Regions from separate parts of the Homo sapiens genome. Here region 1 is linked to region 2. Evidence: promoter capture Hi-C in human tissues and cell types (Jung and others, 2019). All regions are on one chromosome and are shown on one strand. Each heading gives the region's core, a stretch centred on a gene start or on the middle of the fragment in contact. The rest is flanking DNA. Distances are from core to core; before and after follow the strand shown.

Region 1 (6,113 bases), core at 2,414-4,913, 110 kb after region 2:
CGAGATGTAGTTAACAGTTACATCCCGACCCTGTTGTGGTTGAGTGTGTGTGCATGGGTGTGTGTGTTCTCTTTCTAAGCAGAGCTTGGGTGAGGGCAGGCAGTGGTGGTGACTCTCTCTCTGTCCAGTTGCAGGCCCCGGGCATTCTGTCTGGCGGACAGCGATGAGGAATCCTCCAGCGCTGGCTCCTCCGAGGAAGACGATGCCCCAGAGCCCAGCGGGGGAGACAAACAGCTCCTCCCAGGGGCTGAAGGGTGAGTGGATCAGTGCTTCTGTGCCTCTGAGTCTCCAGGGATCAGGACAGCAAGTTGGGAGTGAACCTTGTTTCCCTTCCTTCCTCTGTGATCTTCCTTCCTCTTTAATGTTGAGTAGATGGTTTTTTTATTAATATCCCAGGTCAGTGGTCTGTTTAAATTCCAGGCAACCAAGCAAAAAGACCCATATAGCTTTCCTTACTAAAATGGCTTTCTGCTGCTGTTTGATTAAATAATAGAGAAGTTGAAGGGTGTGCTGATGATGAAAAGCATCTCCCTGAGCCTTCAGAAGGAACCGAGCATACACCCCCTCCCCCCGGAGAGCCTCCCTCCCCTCAGCTTCAGCTGGAGTGCATTTGCTTCTGTTGAGCTGCAAGTTCCTGCAAAGCAGAAACATTCAGATGATTTTCTTTGGCGAGTTTTGAAAGCGCTGATGACTGAGCTGATCTTTTGGATCATGAACTTCATTTGGAGGGGGTTACTCTTTCCCTGTTAACTTGGGCTGTGAAATGATCAAAGTGCTTAAATAGCCTATCCACAATGATCTTTTAATTACATAAAGTGAATTGAAGAAACTAAAAGAAGCCAAATAATTCAGAAACTTTTATAAGAAAAAACCAACCTATTCACTTTTGAAATCCTACAGGAGATGAGAATTCAGATGTTTGAGGAGTTGGTGCCAAAGTTTGTGTGTATTATTTACAGTCTAGCTGCTTGACCCTCTTAAGAATGATTGCTTTTCCCTGAACACATACTTTTCCTCATGTTCTGGAACTGTGGGGGATTTTAAAAAGCAAATATCCTTTCTTCTGAGTCTCATGGTACATGTGACCTGATACAACAGCTTATTTTCTTGGCCTGTGAGCACGTCAACTTGGTGTAGCATTTTGTTTGTTTGTTTGTTTTCTTGAGACAGCATCTTGCTCTGTCACCCAGGCCTGGAGTGCAGTGGCACGATCATAGCTCAATGCAGCCTCAACCTCCTGGGCTCAAGTGATCCTCCCATTTTAGCCTCCCGAGTAGCTGGGACTACAGATGCACACCACCACTCCTGGCTAATTTTCTGTTTGTTTTTTGTAGAGATGGGGGTCTCACTGTGTTGCCCAGGCTACATTTTTCTTTAAGAAGTTCCAAGCCCTTTGAAAAGTAATTGCCACTCAAGGTAGCCATGTGACACCACCTAAAGACAGTCCATTAATTACTGATTTATGTCCTATTGATGCAGCATGATTTGTTACTTGCTGCATGGAGATTATGAGATTGATATGTCATTGGATTTCTGTCTGGTATTGGAGTAGTATAAAGGAGGACAGGTGAGAAACCTCTGCATGAGGACTTTGTCCAGCTCTCCATTGTCAAGGTTTGGACTGTTTCAGACATTTACACCTTCTCTGAAGTAGTAGTTCTCAACTGGGGGTGATTTGGCCCCCCAGAGGACATTTGCCGATGTCTGGCAACATTTTTTATTGTCATAACTAGGGGGAGTGCTATTGGCATCTGGTAGGTAGAGACCAGGGATGCTGCTGAACACCCTGCAATGCACAGGATGCCCCCCGCCCCAACACAGAATCACCACATCCAAAACATCGAGTGGTGCTCTAAAGTAAGGGGAACGAAGAGCCACAGGTTTTTGTCTGTGAAAAGAGCAAAGTTTGTGCTAACCGCCCTTTGTGTTCCACATTTGAAGGTACGTTGGAGGTCATCGAACAAGTAAGATTATGAGGTTTGTTGATAAAATTACCAAGTCAAAATATTTCCAAAAAGCAACAGAGACAGAGTTTATTAAAAAGAAGATCGAAGAAGTCTCCAACACACCCCTGCTGCTCACTGTTGAAGTACAAGAATGTAGAGGAACCTTGGCGGTCAACATTCCACCACCCCCGACTGACCGAGTATGGTGCGTAGAGGGCCCTCAGGGACAATAAGTGATTCCTCCTATTGCATGGCCACAGAAATCCCAGCCTGCTTAACCTTGAGGTTATGGAAAGTACCTTCTCCCGGGCAGAAGCACTTCCAAACAATTTTCATGGGACCTTAATATTAGTTGCAAATCTGATGGTACTTTCTTCTGTGAGTGGTGAATTCACATTCAAGAATTCATGTTCACATGGTAGGAAAAGTTAAAGTCAATACATGAAGTTTATGAGATAAGCTGTTTCTATTATTGGTCTTCCTCCTCTGTAAAGCCAACTGTTCTGCCAGTAATAACAGCTGTCATTTGTAGATAGCGCCTTTATTCTCTGCCTGGCCCTGGTTGTAATTGCATTACCTGATTAGTCCTCATAGCATCCTGTTGAGGTAGATGCCATTGTTATCCCTACTTTAAAGATGGGGATCACACATCCAACAGAGTCTGGGAAGTTAGGGAGACTTCCCTGAGTTAGGCCTCAATGCTGAGGAGTCAGGAGCATGTGCATTTGGTGTCTGAGGACTGGATTCTCAGCCCCAGCTGCATGTTAAAATCACCTGGGGACTTGCTAAAAATATAGCTATGCCTGGCCCATCCCCCCGGATTTCAGGGGTCGGGGGTGATGAAGCCAGGGTTGAGAGTCACTGAAATAAATTACTGATGAGTTCAGCATCACTGCCTGTGAATCTCAATTTAAAATTGACATGCTAAGTCCTATAAAAATGGGCATAAGTGTAAATAGTGATTGCATAAGAGATCTCATTGTACCATAAACTACACTCATAACAAAAATATAGCTCTGTTCTATCATAGAGTAAAACCAACATGCTAGTACATACCATCGGTATTCAGAAGGATTTGTAGGAATGATCAGAAGAGGGGTTTTGAATTGACTAACCATTTAACGATAATGCTGGTATTTCCCAATAAAACTTTAAAATGCCTTTTTATACTTTTTTAAAGTAATATTTTCATTGTTAAAAAAAAGAGAAAGATTGGGAAAAGGTGAAAAATAGATAAATAAATAAAAACCCATAATCTCACCATCCAGAAATAACCACTGTTAATATATTGTATGGTCTTTCAAACCTTAAAAAAATTTTAATAGTTAAAATTGATACATTTCTTCTCCTTACTGCCAATTCTTTAGATTTATCAGTTTTAAATGCCTCTGCTCAGGGGGAGATAAAATAAAAGGGCTCTAGGATAGTGCTACCCAAGGCATGCTCAAATGCTGAACTATGTGTTATTGATCCATAAAGATAAGTATAGAGTGTTTAGAAATATTTATGGCAACTTGACATTTTTACTGTATTTCCAAAAGCACTGGTCCAGGACAGATTTAAGGTTTTAGATAGTTGATAGCATACAGGGTCTTGTCTGGATACTTTGCCAACAGTTCTGATTGCCAGTCTGCTCCCTCGGGAAGTCATACAAAGCGTATTGTTGGGGTGTAGGATGAAAAAACAGGTTTCAAACCTTATTGATCGACATATGCACAGGAGAATGTAAGGGGAGTTCACCCTACTTCTGTCAATAGTCCTCTCTTGGGGATGACATTCAGAGAGAGGCAGTGTGTCTTTCACTCTCTGCTTTATCTGCTTGTATGTATGTTTTGTTTTTGTAATGTACATATACTACTTTTATAAAAATTGAAAGAAAAAAGGTTATTGCCATTTTAGAAAAAAACAGAAACCAATGCCCAGGTCATGGACTTTTCCAGTGGTGCTTCCTGGCTCTCTCAGTTTGTCAGAACTGTTCTAAATCCGCCACAGCCCTAACACCATCCAGGGAACACAGGGGGTTCACAATTCATACTTTGTGTGTGGAATATTTTTAGAGGGCATTTTCAGAAGAAAATAACATTTTAAGTAGTGATAAAGCCCCATGTAAATGAGAACTGTTTGCTGTCAGTGCCTGTCTCATTCCTTGCTTTGCTTCTAAATGTGGTTATTACTTGTCTTCAAAAAGGTATGGTTTCCGAAAGCCACCACATGTGGAGCTGAAAGCTCGGCCAAAACTTGGAGAGAGAGAAGTGACTTTAGTTCATGTGACAGACTGGATAGAGAAGAAACTGGAGCAAGAGTTTCAGGTAAACCTCTAGTGTTATCTAGTATTTCACACCAAGTATAGAAGCTCTGGGTTTAGCCGAGGTTCTGAACTTCAGCTGGGTCAGGATCCTCTTTTGAAAATCTGATGGTGACCTTCATCCCGGAAGAGTATTACATTTGATCAAATATGGGAATAAAACTTCAGGTACAGTATCAAAGCCCTGAAACTTATCCACAGAACATTACTAAGTCATCTTCAGAGGAAACCCAAAAGATTTGGGTCAGAGCAAAATGATGATGTCTTTTCCCAGCAAGCCTGCCAGGACTGTCAGGCTTTGTTTTCTCTTATGCAAGGCCTGGCCTTGCCCAACTCTTAGCACCCGGCCTGTGGGCAGGGAGGCTGCCCCCTGTTCTTGTGTGCTGTTCACCTTGCTCAGTTTGTTCAGTTCAACAAACATTCCTGGAAACCCTTCTGTGTGCCAGGTACCACCTGCCCTGGGAGTCCAAAGATGAATCTGGCCTCTCCCTCCCCTGGGTAGCTTCTAGTGTAGTCTGGGAGTTCATTAAGCCAGAGCTTACTCTCTCAGCTTTTCTTTCTGCATTTGGCCACCAAAGGTAATAGCAGTATAGCTGAGGCCCTAGGATGAGCTATTTCCATCAAACTTTTATCAGATATTTGAAGCACAGTTGTCTGTCGGGGTTTTATGGATTAGCAAACTATTTACTTTTAATGAAATTCACCTTTTGAAGAAGACCTACATTCTTTTTGCAGTGGTATATTTTGAGTTACTGCCTTAAAAAAATCCTCTTATTTAAAAACTAGAGATTAAACATAACTGATAACCAATTTCTGAAAAAGCTTAATGTCATCACCAAATAGAAAAGTACTTTGAACCTACTGAGGGGAAAGAACATCATGCCTTTTATTTTTCCCTTTTTCTTTCTTTTTTTTTTTTTTTTTTTTAAGACAGAGTCTTGCTGTGTCGCCCAGGCTGGAGTGCAATGGCGCCATCTCGGCTCACTGCAAACTCCGTCCCCCAGGTTCACACCATTCTCATGCCTCAGCCTCCCGAGTAGCTGGGACTACAGGCACCCGCCACCACACCCAGCTAATTTTTTGTATTTTTAGTAGAGATGGGGGTTTCACTGTATTAGCCAGGATGGTCTCGATCTCCTAACCTCGTGATCTGCCCACCTCGGCCTCCCAAAGTGCTGGGATTACAGGTGTGAGCTACCATGCCTGGCCTAATTTTTTGGTATTTTTAGTTGAGACAGGGTTTCACCATGTTGGCCAGGCTGGTCTTGAACTCTGGACCTCAGATGATCTGCCTGCCTTGGCCTCCCAAAGTACTGGGATTACAGGCGTGAACCATCGCACCTGGCCATTAGCTTACATTTTATCGCTAGGATTTATTAATAAAAGGATAATTCACATGGAATATGTGTTCTAGACATAGTAACTGGGAACTACTGTGAACAGCTTAAGCCAATTCTCTTAAATTGTTGGATATATATCAGTGCATATGGGCAACCTTATTATATGTATACAAAATCAAAGGCCACTTCTGCCTCCGAGCTGATATATTAGAGGATTCTCGTATCCATGCGCTGGTATGATTCCTCAACTCTTTCTAAAGTATGTATGGTGGGAGAATTAGTTTGGAATGCATAGCAAGTTTTTATATGTACTTTTAAAAATCAGTCTAAGCCCTAAAATTATCAGAACAAAGGAGGGTGACAGCCTGGCAAGGCATTCTTCCACATAGCTGTTCTTTAATATCTTCCTACAGAAAGTTTTTGTCATGCCAAACATGGATGATGTTTATATCACTATAATGCACTCAGCCATGGACCCTCGCTCTACTTCCTGCCTCCTGAAAGACCCACCTGTGGAGGCTG
Region 2 (6,640 bases), core at 427-2,926:
AGCCGGAGTGTGTCTGCCATTAAGATATTTATGCACTGTCTCACGGGTCAGAGAACTAGCCTGGCTTCCCTCTGCTTGAGGCATCAAATCTTCTTCCTGCTTGAGGATTTCAATCTTTCAGATGTTGTTTCATCTGGGTCCAGTGCCCTTCTACACTCAGTTCTTGGCATGACTTATTCTGTTATGAGTGTCTTAGTAGGTGACCTCCTCCCTTACTAGCAAGTCTCCCAACCATATTACTAATTCTGAGGATGAAAGGAGTTTGGCTTTCATTTTGCCAATTGAATTTGAATTTCATGACTATGATAGACTCAAAACACGCACCTGAGTGTGGTCCTTGTACCACTTGCATTAGAATCACCTGGAGGGAGGGGTGTCGAAGGCCATCTCAGACTTACTGAATTACAGGTTCTGGGGTGGGACTTAGAGATCTTCATGTTAAAACCCTCCAGGATGATCTGACGTTGAAGATCTGACATTTGGGACCCACTAATGCAGGAGACACACTGACACATCTGTTTGTTGTCTTGGTCCTTTCTTGTGGTGGGTGGGAAGTGCAGAGGGGCAAGGACTACGGGGGAAGGGGGAACTCTCCCTATGTGCCAGTGCTTCTGCCAGCCAACCCAGGTTCGCAGAAGATAAATGCACAATGGGCATTGCCATCCCAGGAAGCTCATTCTAAGTGAGAATTTACCTCGAGAAGTCACTTTACCTCTCTGAGCCTCAGATATTGCCTCTCTAAAAATGAGTAGTTAATACTATATAAGTTCTAAGCTCTAAGAACTCGTGGCCAGGCGCGGTGGCTCACGCCTGTAATCCCAGTACTTTGGGAGGCTGGGTCCGGCGGATCACGAGGTCAAGAGACCGAGACCATCCTGGCCAACATGGTGAAACCCCGTCTCTACTAAAAATACAAAAATTAGCTGGGCATGGTGGCACGCGCCTGTAATCCCAGCTACTCGGAAGGCTGAGGCAGGAGAATCGCTTTAACCCAGGAGGCGGAGGTTGCAGTGAGCCCAGATGACGGCACTGCACTCCAGCCTGGCGACAGAGCGAGACTCCGTCTCAAACAAAAAAACTAGTAACAGAGTTAGTTCAGGATAGGATGTGGTAGTGTGGTAGTCAGGTGGGGGAAGTACATAATGCGGGAAACTGGGAATTTGCCTTTTTAAATCAATGTCTGCAGTTGGATGGGGATAGATACGTCTGATGGCCCTCTAAAATGCAAATCGAGTGAATTTGCCCAGGGGGATACCCCTGGTTCTCCGCGCCTCAGTCACCCCACCTCAACCCCCAGCCCTCGTCTCAAGGGCACTTGTTGCTGCTAGACTGCAGGAAGAGGAAATTAAGAAGTGCAAAGAGCTGGGGACAGTGTGCAGCCCCGTTGGGAGAGTGAAGCTTTTGTCCCCCTCACCTGGGGCTCTTCCAGGTAACCCTCCCCACCACTCCTCTCCCTAGCTCCAAGGGCGGTGGCCCCTTTAACAGACCTGACAAATCGCTCCCCCATTTCCGCGGCCTCACCTCGGCGCGCGGTAGAACTGGATTGGTTGGGCCTGGCGTGCCGTTTGCTCCGCCCCCGCGCCCTCTGGTTGGCGGCGGCGGCCGCGGGCGCGGGGCGGGTCCGCCGGCGGGGCGGGGCGGCGTGTGCCCGGGGGCGGGCGGGCGGCAGGGCAGCAGGACCGCGGCCGGTGCCCCAGCCGAAGCCGGAGTCGCGCGGCCGGGAGCACGGGCGCCGGCATAGTACAATGAGGCAGCCAGCGGATCTTGGGTGAGCAGTCTCAGGGCCAGGCGGGGGCGGTGGAGGGAGCGCCCCGCGGATAAGGCCCGGGCTGGGCGCGGATCGACCCCGCGGGCTTCAAAGTACCGGTCGGGTCCGGCGGCCCTTGGCGTGGCGGGGCTCGGCCCCCCACCCCGCTGTCATGGTTCAGGTATTGAAGGGGACGCCCACCCGCGACACCCCCGGGCAATCCCTTCCTTCGGGGCCCCGCCGGATGGCTCGGGCTCGACTCCGGCGGGAGGAGCTGCCGGCCCCGTCCCCTCAGCCTGCGGTCCCCGGCCCCGGGCAGGGAGGCACCGTCACGCGCAAACTAGAGGAAAACGGCTTGCAATTTTATGAATGGGGCCCCGGGTTCCTGCCGCCCCCCTCACCGGCGACGCGAAATGCTTGAAAGTCGAGAACCGCAGTTACTTTTACTCGAATCTGTCAGAGGTTGTATGCGCCCCGGTGGTTTTTCTCCAACTCCTGGAGAACGCGGGTGGCGGTGGGGTGGTTTGTGTGCTTTAGCAGGGAGGCGGCGGCGTGCCGAAATCCGGGGGATCGGAAGGTTAACAAGTGACATTGGGCTGAGGCCTAGCGCCAGGTGCCTTGCGGGGAGGCGGTGTGGCCGTGGACGCCGTCGCTGCTGGCTGCTGAGCACGGAAACCATACGGTGGAACCGGAGAAGGCGGGGAACGGCTGGCCACATTGCACCACACGCTGCCTAGAGCGTACGGCTGCCATGGGAGTTGGTGCAGGGGAGTCTTCCCCTTTTGAAAACGATTTTTGGAAAACTTAGCCCCTCAGTGGGTTGATAGTTACTTAAACCATCGGTTGTTATGGTTACTGGGCGTCAAATGTAAGGGCAAAGTCTGTTTCCACCCTCGCTCTTTCTCCAGAGCTATGAAGTACTTTGTCACTGTGTTTTACAGACACTGTCCAGGGAGGACATCCTTTTTTAGAGTTGAGGGAAAATTGTGGGCTCCTTGAGGGCAGGGCTCGTGCCACGTTCACGTTTGAAGTGCCAGCGTCTTCACACCATCACCGCTCTGCACATGCATTAAAAGGAATGAGGCTTTTACATGTTTTGAGGATTCTCAGAGGATTCAGAGGAGTCATTTCAGGAGCCAGGTGTAAGCTGGAGGGGAAACAACGAGTGACTTTTATATGGAAAACAATAAGGAAAAATGGAGGGCAGGTTATCCTTGAACTCTGGAGTATGGGGAGTTTGAGGAGTCTAGGTTTGTGAGTTTTAGGGCTGGGTCACACAGAGACGCTTGTCTCATATTGGAAGAATGAAACTGCCATTTCTGTTAGCTCTTACCTAGCCCATAAACAATATTCTTTCAGATTCTCCCCAAAAATGGTAGTTGGTCTAAAGTTATGGTAAACAAGCCCCCTGAGGTGATGTGGATAGAGTGGGATTTTGCCATATCATTTCTTTCTTTTTTTTCTGGGCCCCTTTGGGAGTGTGAAGGCTTGGAGGGAGAGGATGTGGAGGGCTCTGGGTGAACTGAACTTGCTTGCATGTTTATCTCCAGTAAAAGGCACTGTGCCTGAGAGGAAGGAGATTAACAAATTGATTCAGATCAGAAGATGGTGGTAATTGAGTCTACTGACAAGCAACCGAGGGGCTGGGACAGACGAGGAGGGAGGAAAAATTCAGGAGTTTGGTTTGGGCTGATTGTTGGAGGTCTGAAGAGCAAGTTATGTCATCGTGAGAGAAGATTAGACACAGCATATACCAAACATAATGTTCATTATTAGAGGTTATGTTAGAATGCTTCTGGAGAAGAAGCAGGAAAGATTAGGCTTTTCGATAGAATAAATACGTAGCATGTTTTGGACAAAAAGCAGTTGCCTGGAGTTAAAAAAGAAATTATTTATTAAAATAATAATAATTTTGCTGTATGCCAGAAACTGCTAGACATTATAGAAATGATGGAGGGTTTTTTTGTTTTTAAAGGATGAAGAGTTTGTTTCTATATGCCATATTAGTTGCCTTTCCTTCAAGTCAAATGCTTCTGTTTTCTGGAAGGTTTTCTGAATCCCTTGAGGAAAGAGAGGGGAGAACTGCACAGTTTATTACTTAATATGAGAACAGAGCAATGGGGAAATTCTCCTCACTGTAGATTACTTTCAGTATCAAAGTGAATCTTCAAAGACCAGTTTTCTGTGTCAGGTTCAATATAAAATTATATTAATCCTCACGTCTGTTGACTGGTATCTTTTGATGGAAAGTGCCTGTTCTTTCTTTTTTTCCATTTGTCAATTCATTCATTCAGAGTTAGGAAGTTCATTAAACACACACTGTCTCTTGTTCTCTAGGTGTTTCTAGTTCATTTTCTTTGCCTGAATATCCCTCAGGGTCTGCTTTCTTCTGTCTGATCCTTATCTCCTGAAGGTCTCCTTGGGAATTGCTGAGGTCACAGGGAATGCTTATTCTTTGATTCTGTCCCAAGGCAGAAGACTAGTATAGAAAAGAGAGCAGTGTTGAGTTCCAACTCAGCCAGGTACTGTTTTCTGCCCCTTATGTATATATCCTCTCCAGTCCTAGAGCAGCCCTCTAATGGAGGTGTGATAGCCTCATTTTACAGAAGAGGAAACCGAGGCTCAGAGCAAAGTAGTAACTTGCCCAAGGTGACAAGCTGGTTAGATGGTGGAGCAAGAATGTCAGTCTAGGACATTGATTCAAAAAACGTGCTTTTTGGGCCAGGCACAGTGGCTCACATCTTGTAATCCCAGTACCTTGGGAGGCCAAGGCAAGAGGTTTACTTGAGGCCAAGGGTTTGAGACCATCCTGGATGACAGAGTAAGACCCTGTGTCCAAGCAAACAAAACACACTTTTTCCATTGTACCACGTTGTTTTTCCCTGGAGAGAAATGGCAGTTTATTAGAGATGTCTCTTGCAGTGTCCTCTTGAGTGGACATGTTCAGAGTGGTCAGGTTCAGAGATGTTCAGAGAATTGCTGCACTAATGAGCTCCTGTGCTCCTGCTGGAGCCAGAGTTAGATGCCGATGTCTGTCTCTCTGCCAAGTGCAGTTTTGAGTAATTCACGAGGCTATTGGGAAATCTTTTACTGCCATGAAAAGGTGACTGGACTGACTGGGTCTGTATCCTTGTGCTCTGCTTACCAGCTCTGTGACCTTAAGGGTAAATTACTTCTCTTTCTGTGTACCTCAGTTTCTTTGTAAAGTGGGAAAATATTCCCATTTCAACAATGCTAAGACAGTGTAATTTATGTAATGTTAACATTCCTGGGGAAAAAAAGCATCTTGTAATGTATGGGGTCTTAGACTTGTAGTCAGCAGTGGCTTCCTTTTTTGGCACATAAAATAACAGTGTGTCTTATAGTCAATGGTCTTAGATGAACTAGGGTAGTATATTATTTATAGGTAGTTGTAAGAATTAAATGAGATCACTTATGTCCCTGGTTCTAGTGAGCACCCAATAACAGGTCATGCTGTCCACTGACAGGATGAATGGTTAACTGGGAAAAGCTGGGAAGCATCTCGTAAGATTTGCCACTCAACGCCTAGGCAATAATCCATGGTTTGTGGCTGGAGGAACATTTTCCAATTTGCCTAGAGCACTATCCTTTGGCTGACTCTTGTCCCTGTGAGAAACATTAACTTCAGGAGCTAACGAGCCATGGACAGACAGCTCCCTTTGTCTTCCTATTCATTAAGGTCTTTGTCAACTTTAAATCCCAAGTTTAAAGTAAATATTGTAATAAGAAGACTGGAAGCCCATGCTGTTGTGAATATTCTTACATGTGAGTTTTAAAGCAACTCATAGGTTATACAAGATTTTGTGTTGCTCCTTTCCAAACTCTTTATAATGCGTAATTACACTGCGTGAAATGTCCATGAAGCACCATTAATGAGAGGGATGCTAGGAGGTCATGAAAGTTCAGAAGCCCTTGACTGGCATTGGTGGGGTGGAGAGAACACTAGACTTGGAGTCAGAAGGCTACAGTCCTGACAGTTTCACCTGTCATCCCTGCTTCACCATTAGAAACATATTTCCCAATGGCTGCGTGGATCACCCAAAATTGCACTGGGCAGCAAGGCAGGATACCAGCTGCGCGTCACTTCACTAATTTGGACTTTTAAAAGTCTCTCTTCCAGGACAGGGCGCGGTGGCTCATGCCTGTAATCCCAGCACTTTGGGAGGCGGATCACCTGAGGTCAGGAGTTCAAGACCAGCCTGACCAACATGGTGAAAACCTGGCTCTATTAAAAATACAAAAATTAGCCAGGCGTGGTGGCACATGCCTGTAGTCCCAGCTACTTGGGACTGAATCAGGAGAATCGCTTGAACCTGGGAGGTAGAGGTTGCAGTGAGCCGAGATCGCACCACTGCACTCCAGCCTGGGTGACAGAGTGAGACTCTGTTTAAAAAAAAAAAAAAAGTCTCTCTTCCAAAATGAAGAGTTGATTTCTTAGTGCCATCCCCTACTGCTAGCAGTCTCATAGATTATATGAGTTTATGATTCTAAGAATCTGAGAAATTAAACAATTGAAAGAAAATGATTGTATTCAGGACTTTTGAAGTCTCAGGTGTTTGTGATAGTGCTTTGAAAAACAAAACAATACGCAGGTGATAACAATGTGAGTAACTATCATTTACGGGGAATCGTGTGCCAGGCACTGTTCCTACCTTTAAACTTTATACCACCCTATGAATAGTAGATACTATTATCAATCTTATTTTAAGATGAGAAAACTGAGGCTCAGAAAGGTTAAATAACTTTCCAAGATTACACAGCAAGGTCAAGGACTGATAGCTGGGCCTAGAATACTGGCTTATGTTGCTCCCCAGTGGATGCCTGAAACCATGGATAGTGCTGAACCGTATATACACCACGTTTTTTTCCTAT

What was found. The method cuts DNA at HindIII sites, captures the fragments that hold promoters and counts their contacts. A contact is called where the count stands out against the background at its distance.
Region 1: a fragment that was not itself captured here is called in contact with the fragment with the promoter of TEX2 in region 2 in 10 of the 25 tissues and cell types used here (H1 embryonic stem cells, IMR-90 fibroblasts, aorta and 7 more).

The regions. Positions count from the first base shown.
Region 1 is chr17:64,148,983-64,155,095 of GRCh38, reverse strand. It overlaps TEX2 (testis expressed 2), which reads left to right. Exons shown (of 12, transcript NM_001288732.2): 9 at 129-254; 10 at 1,942-2,151; 11 at 4,135-4,255; 12 at 6,005-6,113. Among named protein-coding and RNA genes, the nearest start is that of SNORA50C, 5.7 kb to the right of the region's middle. The HindIII fragment of the contact is 7,367 bases long and covers 1-6,113 here.
Region 2 is chr17:64,258,296-64,264,935 of GRCh38, reverse strand. TEX2 (testis expressed 2) reads left to right here and starts at 1,676. Exons shown (of 12, transcript NM_001288732.2): 1 at 1,676-1,768. RefSeq lists a silencer at 1,479-2,088. The HindIII fragment of the contact is 9,945 bases long and covers 1-6,640 here.